2 separate regions of the Homo sapiens genome follow, and region 2 is linked to region 1. The links are contacts of gene promoters, found by promoter capture Hi-C in human tissues and cell types (Jung and others, 2019). All regions are on one chromosome and are shown on one strand. The core of a region is centred on a gene start or on the middle of the fragment in contact, and the rest is flanking DNA. Distances in the headings are between cores, read along the strand shown. Region 1 holds the start of ASCC2 (activating signal cointegrator 1 complex subunit 2). Region 2 holds the start of LOC105372990 (a long non-coding RNA gene).

The links. The method cuts DNA at HindIII sites, captures the fragments that hold promoters and counts their contacts. A contact is called where the count stands out against the background at its distance.
Region 2: a contact is called between a fragment that was not itself captured here and the fragment with the promoter of ASCC2 in region 1, in 1 of the 25 tissues and cell types used here (heart right ventricle).

What each region holds. Positions count from the first base shown.
Region 1 is chr22:29,837,024-29,842,181 of GRCh38, forward strand. It overlaps ASCC2 (activating signal cointegrator 1 complex subunit 2), which reads right to left and starts at 1,251. Exons shown (of 20, transcript NM_032204.5): 1 at 1,155-1,251. RefSeq lists an enhancer at 1,524-1,583. The HindIII fragment of the contact is 14,310 bases long and covers 1-5,158 here.
Region 2 is chr22:30,428,985-30,434,275 of GRCh38, forward strand. LOC105372990 (a long non-coding RNA gene) reads left to right here and starts at 3,702. Exons shown (of 4, transcript NR_148046.1): 1 at 3,702-4,260; 2 at 4,633-4,911. MTFP1 (mitochondrial fission process 1) reads left to right here. Exons shown (of 4, transcript NM_016498.5): 4 at 1-70. The HindIII fragment of the contact is 3,341 bases long and covers 1,001-4,341 here.

The sequences.
Region 1 (5,158 bases), core at 1-2,500:
AGCTATGTAGATAAGGCTCATGAAGCTGTGGCAGCATTTAAAAGAGAGACCTGGCTTGAGGAAGAAGTGATGTCAAGGAAGACCTGAGTTTTTGTCTAAAGCACGGGTACAAATTAAGTAGGCAGGGCTGGGCGCGATGGCTCACGCCTGTAATCCCAGCGCTTTGGGAGGCCAAGGCGGGCGGATCACGAGGCCAGGAGATCGAGACCATCCTGGCTAGCAAGGTGAAACCCCGTCTCTACCGAAAAAAAAAAAAAAAATTAGCAGGGCGTGGTGGTGCATGCCTGTAATCCTAGCTACTCAGGAGGCTGAGGCAGGAGAATCGCTTGAACCCGGGAGGCGGAGGTTGCAGTGGGACGAGATCACGCCACTGCACTCCAGCCTGGGCGACAGAGCAAGACCCCGTCTTGGGGGGAAAAAATAAATTAACTGGACAATCTGAACTTTGAGCTCCAAAAGGACAAACAATAATCATGACTATGTCTGTGCCCACCACTGTATTCCCCTGCCAGGCAGGACAGCAAAAGCCAAAAGCTAAGAAAGGGAGGGGGAGCTCCCTACAAGCACCCAATTGCAATATGGCCTGGGAGCATCCCCGGGGCTACTGCTCCCTCAGCCTCTTTGTCATCATTCCTCTAGTCTCTCAATTAAATACTACTCTCCTCAGAGACCTTCTGATGGCTCTGCCTATAGTATCCACTCTCCCAGTTACTGTCATAGCTTTAATGACCTTGTGCATTTGCTTGTCGTTGACCATCTCCTCCCACTAGACTGTAAGCTCCATGAGGGCAGAAGCCTTGTCTGTCTTGCTTTCTTTGTATCCCCAATGTCTAGATCTGTGTCTGGCACATAGGAAGCACTCCACAAATATTTGCTGAACGAATGAATGAACCCTGAGGAAACTGAAGCCCCGGGTGTGAGGACGTGGGGGGATCGTGGCTGGTCCAACGCCACTCTGGGGCCGAACTTCGAACCCGTGGCTCCTGACCCTGGCGGCCAAGTCTCGAGAGGCGGCTCACAACCCCTCAGGTAGCGTAAGCGTGGGCCCCGCAATGGAGGCCAGAGGATGGGAGAGCCAAGGCTGCCCAAGGCATAGCCGCGGCTCCTCCGGGGTCCCTTGCCCTGCATCTGGCAGGGACCAGCCACGCACTCACCTCGGCGGCTCCACCACCGGCTCTGTGCCGCCGCCGCCGCCGCCGCCGCCGACCACGGTGACAGCTCCCTGAGCGCCCGCACTTCCGGGGTCAAACTGCGATTCCGCAGGAGCAGACAGGAAGTCTCGGCCTGGCCCCGCCCCCAGAGCCGAGCAAACTACCGCCGGGAAGCCGGACCCGGGTTGCGCCTCTCTTCTTAAGACTCCGCCCCACACTCGGCGTCTGTAGCCACGCCCCCTTCCCCTCCTATCTCCCTTCCTGCTTAAGCAGAGAATAGGTCAGCTGAGGGCGGGCTGTGTGATTACACCTCTCGGGAAATCCAAGTATGGCACCTGAGAGGACGTCTCGGAATCCCAGGCTTCCACCTTCTGCCCGACCTCCTTAGTCACCGTTTTACATATTTAATCCAGAAGAGAAATTTTAACAAGTCAAAAGCACGAACATAATGTTAAGCAGATGTACAAGTACAGACTGCGATTTCATTTACGGGAAATTCTAGAACAGACAGAACTCATGAGTAGTGATGGTGTTAAAATTGGTGGTTTCCTCTGGGGCTGTGGGCTGGGAGGGGCCACAAGTGAGGCTGGGGTCACCCCCTGTCTTCATCTCGGTGGTAGCCATGTAGATGTGTTCACTTTGGAAAATTCATCAAATTGTACGCTTAAGATTTGTGCATTTTTCTGTATGTATGCAATACAGTTTTGTTCTGTTTTGTTTAAGGAAGTTACAAGTATAGCTATCCTAAGAGAAGGATGCAATTTTTTCTACAGAATGTCTCAGGTAATGTAGGTTTAGTGGTTCCTAAGCCTGACTATGGATCAGAATCATCACAGAAAACTTGTTAAGAACACACATTCCTGGCTTCATCTCAGTGCCTGGTACACAGTAAGAATTCAAAACCAACCACCATCATTATTGGGGTGTTATAGAAGCCCCCGAATGGAGAACACAACCCCACCCTGGGATTGTGAAATATTTCCCAGGACACTCCTGCCAACCCCTGCTATCTGCACTAGGGCTACAAGGAATGCTTAGTTCAGTGCCTGTCTTCAAGGGGCTTACAGGATAGGAAGTGCAAGAAAACCAATAGCAATGAGTCAGTGTGATGAATGCAGGGTGCTAAGGAAATAGGAGAGATGGGCTGTAAACCAGAAATGAGATGAGAGGGGCTGGATATTATATTAGTTTTGTATTGCTGCATAACATATTACCACAAACTTATAACAACACACTGCTTGCCACTTATAACAAACACATTTATTTATTTATTTATTTTGAGACAGAGTCTCACTCTGTCACCAGGCTGGAGTGCAGTGGTGTGATCTTGGCTCACTGTAACCTCTGCCTCCCGGAGGTTACAGTGGGTTCAAGCGATTCTCCTGCCTCAGCCTCCCAAGTAGGCAGGACTACAGGCATGAGCCACCAGGCCCAGCTAATTTTTGTATTTTTAGTAGAGACGGAGTTTCACCATGTTGGCCAGGATGGTCTCGATCTCTTGACGTCGTGATCCGCCTGCCTCAGCCTTCCAAAGTGCTGGGGTTACAGGCGTGAGCCACCACACCTGGCCAACAAACATATTTATTATCTCACATTTTCTGTGGGCCAGGAATCTGAGGATGGCATAGCTGGCTCCTCTGCATCAGGGTCACCCACAAGACTGCAATCAAGATATCGGCCAGGGCTGGAGTCTCATTTAAAGGCTCAACTCAAAAAGGATCTGCTTCCCATGTCTAGTGGCTAAATTCAGTTCCTTAATGGTTGTTGGACTAAGGGTCTCAGTTCCTAGCTGGATTTTGGCTAAAGGCTTGTCACGTAGGCTTCTCCAGTGTAGCAGCCTGCTTCATCAAAGCATGCAAGCCTAAAAGTTAATAGGGAAGCCAAGAGTGGTGGCACATGCTTATGGTTCCAGCAGGTTGGGAGGCTGAAGCAGGAGGATTGTTTGCGCCTAGGAGTTCAAATTGAGCCTGAGCAACATAGCAAGACCCAGTCTCTAAAAATTAAAAATAAATAAATAAATAAAAGAAGGCAATAGGGGCCGGGCACCGTGGCTCATGCCTATAATCCCAACACTTCGGGGGGCTAAGGTGGGAAGATTGCTTGAGCCCAGAAGTCTGAGGCCATCTTAGGCAACATAGCGAGACTTCGTCTCTACAAAAAAAAATTTAAAATTAGCCAGGCATGCTGGTGCATGCCTGTAGTCCCAGCTACTTAGGAGGTCGAGGCAGGAGAATTGCTTGAGCCCAGGAGTTCGAGGCTGCAGTTAGCTGTGATCACACCACTGCACTCCAGCCTGCACAACAGAGCAAGACCCTGTCTCAAACAAACAAAAGGAGGCAATAGGAGATTCTACTAAGAAGAGAGAAATTACAACCTCATGTAACCTAATCAAGAAAGTGACATCAGTTTTGCCATGTTCTATTTGTTAGTAGCAAGTCACAGGATTTGCCCACAGGGGATTACACAAGGGCATGAATACCAAAAGATGTGAATCAATGGAGGCCATTCTAGAGTCTGCCTGCCACAGATACTTGGAGGATGCATATCAACCCCAGGTCTGCAGCAGAGGAAGTAGAGGTGCAGAGAGATAAAGACAGTTGTGATAATAATGACCACATTTGTCAAACCCTTGCTTCATCCCAGGCACTGGAATAAGCATTTTACACATATTATCTCTTTGACTTTTTTTTTTTTTTAAATGAGATGGAGTCTCACTCTGTTACCCAGGCTGGAGTGCAGTGGCACGATCTTGGTTCACTGCAACCTCCGCCTCCCAGGTTCAAGCCATCCTCCTGCCTCAGCCTCCGTAGTAGCTGGGACTACAGGCATGCACTGGGCTAATTTTTGTATTTTTAGTAGAGATGGGGTTTTGCCATGTTGGGCAGGCTGGTCTCAAACTCCTGACCTCAGGTGATCTGCCCGTCTTGATCTCTCAAAGTGCTGGGATTACAGGTGTGAGCCACTGAGCCAGGTGCTCTTTGACTTTTTGTAACAATGATAAGAGGTAGACGCTATTATGACCCCATTTTAAAGAGAGGTTTAAAGACTAGACCAGAGTCACAGAGCTGGTAAGTGGGTGGAGTGGGGATTTGAATTCAGCCCTGTTTAGCCCCAAGCTCCAAGAGATCTCAAGGGCCACAAGCTGCGTCAGAACAGTGAATGTTTCCCTTTGTTGCTGTTATTATTATTATTATTATTATTGAGATAGGGTCTCCCTCTGTCACCCAGGCTGGAGTGCAGTGGTGTGATCATGGCTCATTTCAGCCTCTGCCTCCTGGGCTCAAACAATTCTCTTGCCTCAGTCTCCTGAGTAGGGGTGACTATAGGCATGCACCACCATGCCTAGCTAATTTTTAATTTTTTTGTAGAGATGGTGTCTCACTATGTTGCCCAGGCTGGTCTTGAACTCTTGGGCTCAAACGATCCTCCCACCTCAGCCTCCCAAAGTGCTGGGATTACAGGTATGAGCCACCATGCCAGCCTGTTGCTGTCATTTTTAGGAAAACTGATCTTCTACTGACATGGAAGGGACAGAAAAAGGTGCCAGAAACTGTGTGTTTTTGTTTTATTTTGTTTTTTCTTCTCTGTCATCCACACACACTGGGCACAAGGAAAATGCAATCTGTATCTTGGTGATTAGTTGGGAGAAAATCACATACAGCAGCCTTTGGTCCAGGAAAAACTTAAAATAGTAGATCTGGAGAAAATATATGCACTGGTTCCATCTTTCCCTATGGGTACAAAGATGTTCATATCACTAAGGTTTTGGAACTAAATAACATGACTGTAAGAAGACAAAACATCCAATAAGTCACCTAACTTCTCCAAACATATCTGTTTTCTCATCTGTTAAACAAGGTAGTTAATATCCACCTCATCATCATTAGAAGGCTTAAGGCTGGGTGTGGTGACTCATGCCTGTAATCCCAGCACTTTGAGAGGCTGAGGTGGGAGGATTGCTTGAGGCCAAGAGTTCGAGACCAACCCAGGCAACATAATGAGACTTA
Region 2 (5,291 bases), core at 1,421-3,920, 590 kb after region 1:
GTACCAGGGACACCTCAGGACAGATTCTCTGGCCAGGCCCTTCCCTGACCCAATAAATCCTGAAGAGGTTGTTATGTCTTCATTTCTGTTTGGGAGGAGCAGGGATGTGGTGGTGGGGAGGAGGGATGGGTAGCAGTCTCCCCGCCCATTAGTGCTTCCCTGCAGGTGCCTGGCATCCCACGTTGGTGCTGCCAGCCTCCTTTGGGGTAGGCATTACCCTTTACTTACTTACTTTTAATAGAGATGGGGGTCTCCCTATGTTGCCCAGGCTGGCCTTGAATGCCTGGGCTCAAGCAATCCTCCCACCTCAGCATCCCAAACTGCTGGGATTATAGGAATGAGCCACTGCACTCAGCCTGGCATTGCCCTCTTTTTCTAGCCTCCTAAAGCACCAACCCCTCTGGGAGGGGAGCCTGTTGGGCAGATACCACCTGAGCCTGAAGGTGGCCAAGATGGTGGTGTCAGCCCCATATGAGGGTCACATGAGACCTCCTCATGAGGGGACTCGGCAGCCTGGAGAAGGAAGTGACCAGGGGGCTTCTTACACTCAGAATCAGGGAATGGCCTGTTTTCCTTGTGGCTTCCCCTGAGCTGCTGGGCTCGAGAGTGCTAGAGGGGGCCATTCCTCTGATCCTGGGCCATCCCCCTCAACAGCTCAGAGAGGTAGAGAGGTGGGAGCACAGGGCTGAAGCAGACCTGGGCCCCTCTCAGCCCTGCCCCAAGCACCAAATCAGCTCCCACCAAGACCCTGGCCCCATCCCTTGCAGCCCAGGTGCAGTCAGGTAGGCTGACCCTGTCCTGGTGGGACTCACCTGCACCTGGGCTGGGACTTAAAGGGGCTGCAGGGCTGGGTAGGGGTGCTGCCAGCAAGACAGGATGGGGGCTCCGGGGTGGTGGCCCCTGCTGCTCTGGGGGTATCCATGGCTACAGGATGAGTCTGATGTGGGCTGAGCCTTTCTCTGCTACTCTTATTGTCCCACACTGGCAAGGTCCCCTTCCCAAGCCCCTATGGCCTCTGCCCAGTCACCTGTCACTCCCTCCCAGCTCCCTTAAAGGCTTTAAGCCCCGCCTTGTTCTCTAGCCCCCGACCCCACCCCCCATTCCCTGTCTGAGCTGGCACTCACATCCTTCTCCAGCCCAGCATTTTCCCAGCTCATCTTCTCCCCCGGCAGTCACAGCCCCATGCGGGGTACATTCACACCTGCATCCCTGTGACATCTCCTGGCATCTACCACCAATTCCTTGCTCACTCACTCTCCACTTTCCACTCTGCAGGCTCTCCCTCAAGCTGGGATCTGTGCAGGCCACATATAGGCTTTGTGCTCATGGGCCTAAGCGCCCAGCCTTGTCCTTCTCCCCATCACCTGCCCTCCTGTGCCTCTATGCCTTTCCTCACAACACACTGTTCCTCAGCTGCAAATCCTTTTCCTCTTGGCCAGCTATGAGCACCCTTCAGAACCAGCTCCAGTGCCCCTTCTGTTGTTGCCCCTTACTATGCCTTACTGTGGGCCACCTCTGCCCTTGACTGCCCCGTTGGTGGTAACTTGTGAGGAAATACCGGGGTGCAAGTTTGCAGATGCCTGGCACATAGTAGGTGCTCACAGAAGGGGCTTTGAGGCACTCCCAGGCCAGGCTGATAGGGATGAGGTCGGTGGACATCCTGTCTGTAGGGGGAAACACCACCATCTCCACAACCCCCCAACATTTTACCCTGCTCCATTTATTATTATTATTATCATTTTGAGACTGAGTCTCGCTCTGTCACCCAGGCTGGAGTGCAGTGGCACAAACTTGTCTTACTGCAACCTCTGCCTCCCGGGTTCAAGCAGTTCTCCTGCCTCAGTGTCCCAAGTAGCTGGGACTAGAGGTGCATGCCACCATGTCCAGCTAATTTTTGTATTTTTAGTAGAGACGGGGTTTCACCATGTTGGCCAGGCTGGTCTTAAATTCCTGACCTCAACTGATCTGCCCACCTTAGCCTCCCAAAATGCGGGGATTGCAAGCGTGAGTCACTGTGCCCAGCTCCCTGCTCCATTCTGGAGATGCAGGGAATTAATTGAAGGTGGGGGATGCTGGGGGAGGTTTTTGGGCACCCTCTGCTGGCCATGTTCTCGCTGAGTCTGGTTCTCCGCCTGAGCTAGCCTGGGCTGGATTGCCAGGAGACAGCCTCCTGCAGGACTGTAATCAGACAGATGTCCTCCTGGCAGTGAGGAAGGAGCCCCAGGTGGATGCTTGCCACCTGTGCCTTGGCACCTGCCTGCCCTCCCCAGTCCCTGCCATACCTGGCTATGAGGTCTTCACTGCCCCATTCAAAGCTTATGGCTTCATCCAACTGGTGAGGGGGCTGTTGGAGGCTCACGAGGACAAGGCTGCCAAGAGCCAGGGAGTACCCGGGAGATTCGGGGGAGAAGAGCTGGGGTGTCTGGGCTGGAAAGAAGGGTAGAATCAGATCATACTGATTTGCAAGTCACAGCCTCTCCGAGTGTGAGTTTTTCTCTCAAAGATGCAGAGCCCTGTATCTCTGCAGAATTCAGTAGCTAAGGATTTGATGCAGATTTGCCATTTAGCATCTGTGTGTTTGTACGTGCCCTTTACGTGCATTTGTTTCTTGCATCCTCAACAGCCCCGTGAGGAGATAAAACCATCATTCCCATATTCCACATGAAGACACTGAGGCTCACAGAAGGGAAGACCCCACTGTCTACCACCAGATGCAACTCAGCACATCATTCTTCAAAGCAGAATTGGCTTTTTTTTTCCTTGAGACAGGGTCTCGCTCTGTTGCCCAGGCTGGAGTGCAGCGGTGCAATTATGGCTTACTGTAGTCTTTACCTCTCAGGCTCAAGTGATTCTCACATCTCAGCCTCCCAAGTAGCTGGGACCACAGGCGTGTGCCTGGATAATTTTTTGATTTTTTTTTTTTTTTTTTTTTTTTTGCAGAGACTAGATCTCGCTATGTTGCCTAGGCTGGTCTCCAGCTCCTGGGCTCAAGCGATCCTCCCACCTCGGCCTTCCAAAGTGCTGGGATTACAGGTGTGAGCCACCGAGCCCTGCCAGAATAGGCATTTAAGCAAGACAGGGACCTCGAATGAGGCCTAGCAGGAAATTGAGGCCCAGACAGGGCAAGTGACTTCAAGACCACCCAGTGAGGTGGGGGCCCAAGCTGGGAGTAGACCTTTCCTGCCTTTTCCCACCATCCTAAGGAGCAAGTATCCTCGCAGATCTCAGGAAAGATAGTGGAATTATTTGCTGACCTGGTCTATGCACCACCACCCAGTTCAGAGCAGCCCTGCAGTGCTGCCTCCCGCCATTGGGTCAGCAGTGTGGTCAAGGCGTGAGCAATGCCTAGCACCCCTAAGCCTGTCTAGGGCCCTGCCACCTGGAGGTCTGCAGGAAGAGGGAATGGTAGGTTGGATGGGGGCTGCCCCTCCAGAAAGGGGCCACCAGGCGCTGACCTCCTGGCCCCCACTTGGTGTGAGCCTGGGGCAGGGCTGGAAATGCTCACCTGGGGGTTGGAATTTGGAATTCCTGGCCTTTTCCCTCCTGTTCTTCCTCCTCATGGGCTGCCCTGGGGGACTTGGCATGGGCCTTTAGTGTTTGTTTTCTGGGCCCCCTCACATGCCAGAGTTGCAATGTTCCCCGCCCCCCCCTTATTTCCCTGCCAGCCCAGGAGCTCCCATCTCACCTCCCACCTCCTTGGTCACTGACTCTCTGGCTGCGTTTGGAAATCTGGACTTCAGCATGAGACTTTGGCCTGGTTCTTTGCCTCCCACAGGTGGGGGACATTGGCTGGGCTGAAGTAATGTCCCAAGAGGAAGGTCTTCTAGCTCAGGGACTCCTGTGCCTCCAGTTCTGGGCCAGGTTACCCCTGGAGAAATAAGGAAGTGAGGGAGGACCAGTAACAGAGTGTGAGGGCACTGGGCTTCTGGCCACCTGGCCCTAGCTTTTCCTGCTTCTCCTCTTGCTGTGTGGCCTCAGGCAAACCCTTCAGCATCTCTGGGTCTCGTGTCTTCCCCATCTTGGTTTCATTCCACCTCAGGGTGGGGCCATACTGGAGGATCCAGACCCCACCAACACCAGCACCATTTTCCTGGGCTCTGAGCTCCACATGGAGTTTGCTGTGGTTGGCAGCTCCCATTAGCCTTTACAGGTATATGTGGACGAGTGTGTGATCAGCCCCAGCCAGGATATGGAAGTGGCCCCTGCACACTACAGCCTTGTCAGGAATCATGGGTACTGAACCTGGAGGAGGAGGATAGGGTAGGATGGGTACAATTCAGTGGGTGATATCTCTGGGGAGGCTGGGACAGGGGCTGAGAGCCTTCCAGGGCTGGAAGGCACGGATGCCCAGATAGTGCTCCCTGGGCGTTCTTGAGTAGTCCTTTCTAGGCCAGGGGAGCAAGAATGCTTTACTGGCCCTTTCACCTCTGGAGCCTCTGTTTGCCCTTCTGTGAAATGGGGATAGTGCCAGAATCTTCAAAGCCTGCTGTGTAGACTGAATGGGGTGACGCTTAGCTCAGTGCTTGGCATGCAGAATTCTCAACAAATGATGGTGTATGGTGGTGTTGGGGCTAGGACCAGATCCCAGTTCAGGGGTCTGACCCTGATGACCTTCCAACCTGTGCCTTCCAGGTGCCTGGTGAACGGCAAGAACTTCCACTCCCACTTCGTGCCCCAAGAGGTCCCCAAGAGACTGGAGCTCTCCTTCCAGGCCTTCAGCTTTACTGGTACTCCTGCTGATGTGAGTGGAAACAGATAACCCCCTCCCCACTCTGCCACCCCGTAGGAACAGAGACCCAAGCTGAGGAATCTTTGGAAGTTACGGGGTGCACCACAAGCTGTTGCTCTGGAATCTAAAGGTCCCATCTGATGCTACCAAGAAGGCCTGTTCCTTCCACAGGGGCACTCATGGTGAGTCATGTTCACCAAAGGTGTACTGCATGCCTTACCCTGTAACTGGCATTTGAGGTACATGACCTCACTTAATTGTGTGGGAGGTGAGGAAACTGAGGCTCAAAATAGCTCAGATTGAATTTCTGCAATAGTTCCCCATGCTTGGCTGGACCACAAGCCCAACTGCTTTGGCCTAGAGTGGGCAGTGTGAGGTATACTGGGAATGGAGGCTTTGGACTGTGACCTAGACCCAGGTTCAAATCCCAGCTCCAGCTCTTGCTGGCTGTGACATCATGGGCAAGTCACTGACCTTTTGTTAGCCTCTGTTTCTTTGCTTGTTAAATGCAGGTCTGGTCCATGCCACCCCTAGCTCCCATCTCTGGTGCACTGACCACCTC